Linked DNA regions of Homo sapiens: region 1 is linked to region 2. Evidence: promoter capture Hi-C in 16 types of primary human blood cells and fetal thymus (Javierre and others, 2016). All regions are on one chromosome and are shown on one strand. Each heading gives the region's core, a stretch centred on a gene start or on the middle of the fragment in contact. The rest is flanking DNA. Distances are from core to core; before and after follow the strand shown. Region 1 holds the start of LOC124905149 (a long non-coding RNA gene). Region 2 holds the start of BRD1 (bromodomain containing 1).

Region 1 (2,926 bases), core at 230-2,729, 800 kb after region 2:
GGTGTGGTGTGGAATGTGTGTCTGGGGTCCAGTCTGGCCTGTTGCAGGGTTACGCTGCTGGGGAAAAACTCATCTGAGGACAACGTGATTGGGTCCTCGCTCCCTCGTTGGGCAGCCTTGGACTTAACCTTTTTGATCTTGAAGGAAAACACAATATGTCACCTCCAAATATATTTCCTTGACACGGTTCAAGACAGTTACTCAGAAGGACTGGAAATAGAAGAATAGCTGAAAAGCTGTCTTTTGTGGGGGAGATTTGCATCTGTGGAGAGAATCTACACTGATGCGGCCAGGCCTCCTCTGAGGCCCTCCTTGCCTGATCTGGGAAGAGTAACAGTCTGACGCCTTTAAAGGCCTGAAGGGAACATTCACCATCTGTTCTCTCTCAGGGCTGCTACCTGTGAGGTTTCATCTGTAGAACAAGGCCACCTTTGCTAGCCAGGCCTCCTCTGCTCTCCCTCCTGTAACCGGTCTTGCCACTGGTCACCTGATTTTCCACCATAAACTGTGGCCATACTTTGAGCCCATGTTCTTTCTGTAACCTCAAGATGGTATATAAGCTTCCGAACCCCATTGGGAGGTTGGGGTCATCACTCTGGTTCTCCCTGTGTGCATGAATAAATCTGTATGCCTTTTTTCTTACTAACCTGGCTTTTGTCAGTTGATTTTCTGTGAACTCAGAATGCAGAAAAGTTTTTCTCTAGGCTCCTACAGTTTTGGTGCAGTCGGTAGGATAACTAAAGTCACTCTCCTGGGAGCCTCCGTCAGGGGAACCCAGGAGCCGACAAGCTGGCAGAAAGAAGGGTAAGAAGGTCTTAGCAGCCAGGCTCCCGGCCTCTCTGGAATCTTGTCAAGCCGACGGTAAAAATGTCTGTTTACCTTGTTTTCCTCTTCAAAGTTTTAATGAGAGAAATGTATTTATGTGATTAGTTTTGTATTCATATTGTTTGATTGCTTTTTTTCCCCAGAAATAGTCGTCTTTCATTCTTGTCTTTCTGTGTTTTTCTGTCATAAAGAGGGTAGAACACAGGCCTAAAACCCCTGTAAACCCCGTCTTGGGGCCGTCCTGCAGGCTAGTCAGTTTTGCAGCTCTGATCGGATGCGTCTAGTTAGACAGACTTTGCTGTGGGTCCCTGAACTGAAAACTGGATGAGATTCTCCTCTCTTTTGATGTCCTTGAAAGCTTGAGTTGTGAGCGAGTGGGAATGATGCAGGCCAGGCAGACCCCAGAGTGGAGCTTAGCCAGTGAGGGTTTTGGCTTTGCCCAGGAAAGAATTCAAAGACAAGCCAGAGGTAGAAGAAAACAGCTTTATTGAACAGGTGGCGTTAGAGCTCTGTGACTGCTCCTGCAGAGCAGGGCCACCCCGTAGGCTGAGAGTAGCAGCTCAGGGCAGTTTTGCAGTCACATTTATACGCACTTTTGATTGCATGTAGATTAAAGGATGGTTTATGCAGAAGTTTCTAGGGAAGGAGTAGTCATCATTGGGTCATTGCCATGGAAAGGGGTGGCAACTCCTGGGTGTTGCCATGGCAATGGTAAACTGACATGGCACAGTGGCGGGCATATCTGACTGAAAGCTGCTATTGCCCCAACCCTGTTTTAGCCAATCCTCAACTGGGTCAACTAAGTCCCACCTCCTACCTCAGGAGCACTCTCTTGGCCTCTGCCAATCCGAGGTAGTGACTCGCAGGTCACATTTTGTGGTCAGTCTGAAAATGGTTGGGAACCCAAGACATTTAATATTTTAAGCAGCACCGTTTTTGTTCTGAATGTGTCAAGCTTTTAGTTTGTCTTAAGAAGTCCCTGCCAGGCGAGCTGTCAGAGCCCCGGCACTGGGAGTGGTGGTCAACTTGCGGGTTGGTAAAAAGAGTTTACCGACAATAGGTTTGAAAAAGGAAAGTTTGGCCGGGCATAGTGGCTCATGCTTGTACTCTCAGCACTTTGGAAGTCCAAGGTGGGTGGATCACCTGAGGTCAGGAGTTTGAGACCAGCCTGGCCAACATGGAGAAACCCTGTCTCTACTGAAAGTATAAAACTTAGCCAGGTGTGGTGGTGCGTGGCTGTAATCCCAGCTACTTGGAAGGCTGAGGCAGGAGAATTGCTTGAACCTGGGAGGCGGAGGTTGCAGTGAGCTGAGACAGAGCAAGACTGTCTCAAAAAAAAAAAGAAAAAAGAAAGTTTGCCGGGCACGGTGGCTCACGCCTGTAATCCCAGCACTTTGGGATGCTGAGGCAGGTGGATCACCTGAGGGCAGGAGTTCAAGACCAGCCTGGCCAACATGATGAAACCCCATCTCTACTAAAAATACAAAAAATTAGCTGGGCATGGTGTCGGGAGCCTGTATTCCCAGCTACTTGGGAGGCTGAGGCAGGAGAATCGCTTGAACCTGGGAGATGGAGGTTGTGGTGAGCTGAGATCATACCATTGCACTCCAGCCTGGGCAACAAGAGTGAAACTCCATCTCAAAAAAAAAAAAAAGAAAAAAAAAGAAAAGAAAGAAAGTTTATTAGAATGCTGCAGAAGAGTGCAATGAGGTGCCTCAGCAAGAGGACTGAGTACGCCGGGTGGATTTCTCCTTAAGGGCATTTATAGGCCTTAAAGTGGAGGCTTAACAGTAATTTGGACCATATTAGCCACGTAAGTCATGATAAATGATTACATTTATAGTAATTTTGGTGCCTTAATGTCAGCGACGGTTGTACAGTGAGTTTCGTCATGGTATTCTGGAGACACATAGAAATTATAGTTACTTACACGTTTTTTGGGGGAAGAAATCTGGAACCAGATGCCTGCTTTAGATAATAGGGAGGTTTAGTTACTTTTGATTTTCCCCAGATAAGGAGTTTTGCCTCGGAGGGCCTGTTTGATGTTTGATGGTCGCCAGGTGGTTTTTGCTCTCCTCAGGCCCATCCATAAGGGGCTTTT
Region 2 (3,047 bases), core at 372-2,871:
GAAGCTCTTCATCGCAACACTTTCTACAAGGGGAGAACTGAACCGAAGGCTTCACGGCCACAGCAGCTCCATACCCTCAACATGCAACTGGGACCCGGGGAAAGTAGGCCCTCAGCAGGGCAGGGCGACCCACGACCTCCTCTGCTTCACCGCTTCCCCCCTGGGCCGGTTCTGTCCCTGGCCCTTCCACTGGGACAAGCATTTCCACTGGGAGGGATCCGCGGGGGCACACACGTAGCTTCTCAAGGAATAATTCCCTTAAGTACATCGAAGAGCCCTGCGGGCCACAGGCGGGGAAGGCTGCCCACAAGACGGCCGCTTCCATCTTCCCACCGCCCGCCCAGGGAGAAGCCGGCCACGCGCCGGGCCTCTCGGTCAAGGCCACAGGGGCCGCGGCCGCTGAGCTGTGCGAAGTTGTGTGCAGCACACAGCACTCGGGACGGCGCTGGGCCGGCCAAACAAAAACATCCGCCGATTCCACTAACTACACAACCACCTGGCGACAGACCCTCAAAAACAGACACGGGCGGCCGCGCTTTCTGGGGAGACGGGGCCGCACCCCGCGGGGCAGGGGGTCCCGCTGCTACGGATTCTCAGAACTCCCGCGTCCGCTCACAAGAGCCGCGTTTCCCGTGAACTGCGCCTCAATCGTGTCACTCGTTTTAAAAGGCCCGGGGAAGCCTCGCGTTCGTCGCGAGGCGTCTCCCTGCAAACGCCCGGGGAGGCCGCGGTGCCGGTTCCCAAGCCCGGCCGCCGCAGGCCGCGCGGCTCCTGGGCGATCTCGGGGCGCGTCCCTGCTCACAGGGAGTTCCCGTCTTGGCAGAGCTCGGCGGGCCTGTCTGTTACATAAGGGGCGGCCCGGCCGGCTCGGCGGCTGCCCGAGGCCCGACCCGACTCGAGCGCGGACTCCGGGCAGGCGCCCGCGGCCCAGGCCGCCGAGACCCACAGCCCGACTCGGCCTCCCTCGACTCCCCGGCCTGACCTACCCGGTCTCCCCGCCCGGCCTCCCCGTCTTCCCGCCCGTCTCCCCGGCCGCCCGGCCCGACCTCCCCGGTCTCCCCGCCCGGCCTCCCCGGCATCCCGGGCTCCCGGCCCGCAGACAATGCGGAGCCGCCGCCGCCGCCGCCGCCGCCAAACATGGCGTCGGCACCACAACCCCGAGAGGCCGGGCCGAGGCGGCGGCGGCGGCCGGGCGGCCCGCGAGGCGGCGGGGAGGCCTCCCCGGCCAGGCCCCCGCCCACTCACCTTCGGGGCGCCGCGGCCGCGGGAGCCCGGCAAGCGGGCGGGCGCGGGGGCCGGCGCGGCCGAGGCGGTGCTAATGGCGCCCGCGGCTCCTCCGCCAACGGCCGCGCAGGCCGGGCCCCGCCGCCGCTCCTGGGCGCGGGCCCCTCTCGGCCGCGGCGGCTCCGGGCCCGGCAGCGGCGGCCGCGGACTCTCGGGCAGCGGCTCGCGCGGCGCGGGCTCGGGCTCGGGGCCCAGCTGGAGGCCCGGCTCGGGGGGCCCGGCCGGCGGGCGCGGGCGCGGGCGCGGGAGCGGGCGGCGGGCGGCGGGCGCGGGACGCGGGGCTGGCTCGGACTCCAGGGCCGGGTCGCTCGCTCGCTCCCCAGCGAAGCAAACAATGCGGCGAGCGCTCCGCCCGGCGCGCTGCGTGCGAGACGCGCCCCGCCCGCCGCCGCCATGACGCGCGGACTCCGCTGCCTCGGCCGCGCGCGGGGGAGGGGGCGCCGCGAGGAGCGGGGGCCAAAGGGGGCCCTGAGGCGGCGGGGACCGGGCTGGGAGTGGGGGGTCGGGAGGATGGAGAGTGGGGGCCCTTGAGTTAGGGAGGACCGGGCCAGAAGGTCCCTGAGGGGGTCAGGAGGATGGAGAATGAGGGGCCCTGAGGCAGGGGGACGTAGGCCTAGGAGTGGGGGGCCCCGAGGCAGGTGGGGAGCAGCCGGGAGTCGGGGGCTTTGAAGCAGGGGGGTACCGGCTGGGAGTGGGGGTCCCTGAGGCAGAAGGGCATTGGCCCAGGAGTGGGGTCGCTGAGGCAGGAGATGGCCCAGGAGTGGGCGGCTCTGAGGCAGGGGCTACCACCGGCCTGGAGTGGGGGGCCCACAGGCGGGGGGACGGGCCGGGAGTGGGGGTACCTGAGGCAGAAGGACATTGGCCCGGGAGTGGGGGGCCCCGAGGCAGGATGGGGGAGCAGCCGCCAGTCGGGGGCCCTGACGGGGGAACGGCCAGGAGTGGGGGTCCCTGAGGCGGGGGGGACCAGCTGAGAGTGGGAGTCCCTGAGGCAGAAGGCCATTGGCCCAGGAATGGGGGGCCCTGAGGCAGGGGGCGATTGGCCCACGAGTTGGTGGGGGCCTGAGGCAGGGGGCGATTGGCCCACGAGTGGGGGGAGGCCTGAGGCAGGGGGCGATTGGCCCATGAGTGGGGGGCCCTGAGGCAGGAGGCTATTGGTCCGGGAGTGGAGGTCCCTAAGAGGACAGAGGGGGCCCTGCGGGGGCACTGGGTGGGAGTGGAAAGGGCACTGGCCGGGACACGCGACTAGGTAGAGGTGGGTGGTGCAGCCGGGCTGGGGAGCCTCCCCTAGTGAGTGTCAGGCCCGGTGTGCAAGTAGTCCTGCCAGTGTGAGGGCCCTGCCGAGGCCGGCGTGAAGCAGATGCCCTTTAAGGTTGCAAGAAAAGGCCCCTGCGGGTGGGAGTTGAGAGGCCTGAGTCTCTGCCTTCACTTTGGCCTTTTGTGTAAACTCTAAAATTCAGTGGGGTCATAACAATTTTCACTCCAAGATTAAATCCCAAATGTTTTAAGGTGAGGCAGGAGCTCCTTGGTTTCCTTGAGAATTTGTGATCAGGACGATGGTGCTGTGGAATCCCTGGGTTCCAGCAGCACAGCCTGTGGCATCCAGGCAGGCCCCTCAGGAAGAGCAGCTGTCCACCCTGGGACAGACCGTCCCCACGGGGGCAGCCGAGCGGCCCCACTGCTCGGGGCACTGCACCAAACACCTTATTGGGAGTGGGGTGGCCTTGTTCGCCCAAGTGTCCCTGATAGGGGCCAGGCCCCACAGG

The links. Contacts are between HindIII fragments. The CHiCAGO score rates a contact against its expected background, and 5 or more counts as called.
Region 1: a contact is called between a fragment that was not itself captured here and the fragment with the promoter of BRD1 in region 2, in 1 of 17 cell types (monocytes). The highest score is 5.1, in monocytes.

Annotation. Positions count from the first base shown.
Region 1 is chr22:50,629,035-50,631,960 of GRCh38, forward strand. LOC124905149 (a long non-coding RNA gene) reads left to right here and starts at 2,460. Exons shown (of 2, transcript XR_007068161.1): 1 at 2,460-2,926. The HindIII fragment of the contact is 597 bases long and covers 1,182-1,778 here.
Region 2 is chr22:49,826,252-49,829,298 of GRCh38, forward strand. It overlaps BRD1 (bromodomain containing 1), which reads right to left and starts at 1,622. Exons shown (of 13, transcript NM_001304808.3): 1 at 1,246-1,622. RefSeq lists an enhancer at 87-286 and silencers at 787-956, 1,687-1,756. The HindIII fragment of the contact is 34,147 bases long and covers 1-3,047 here.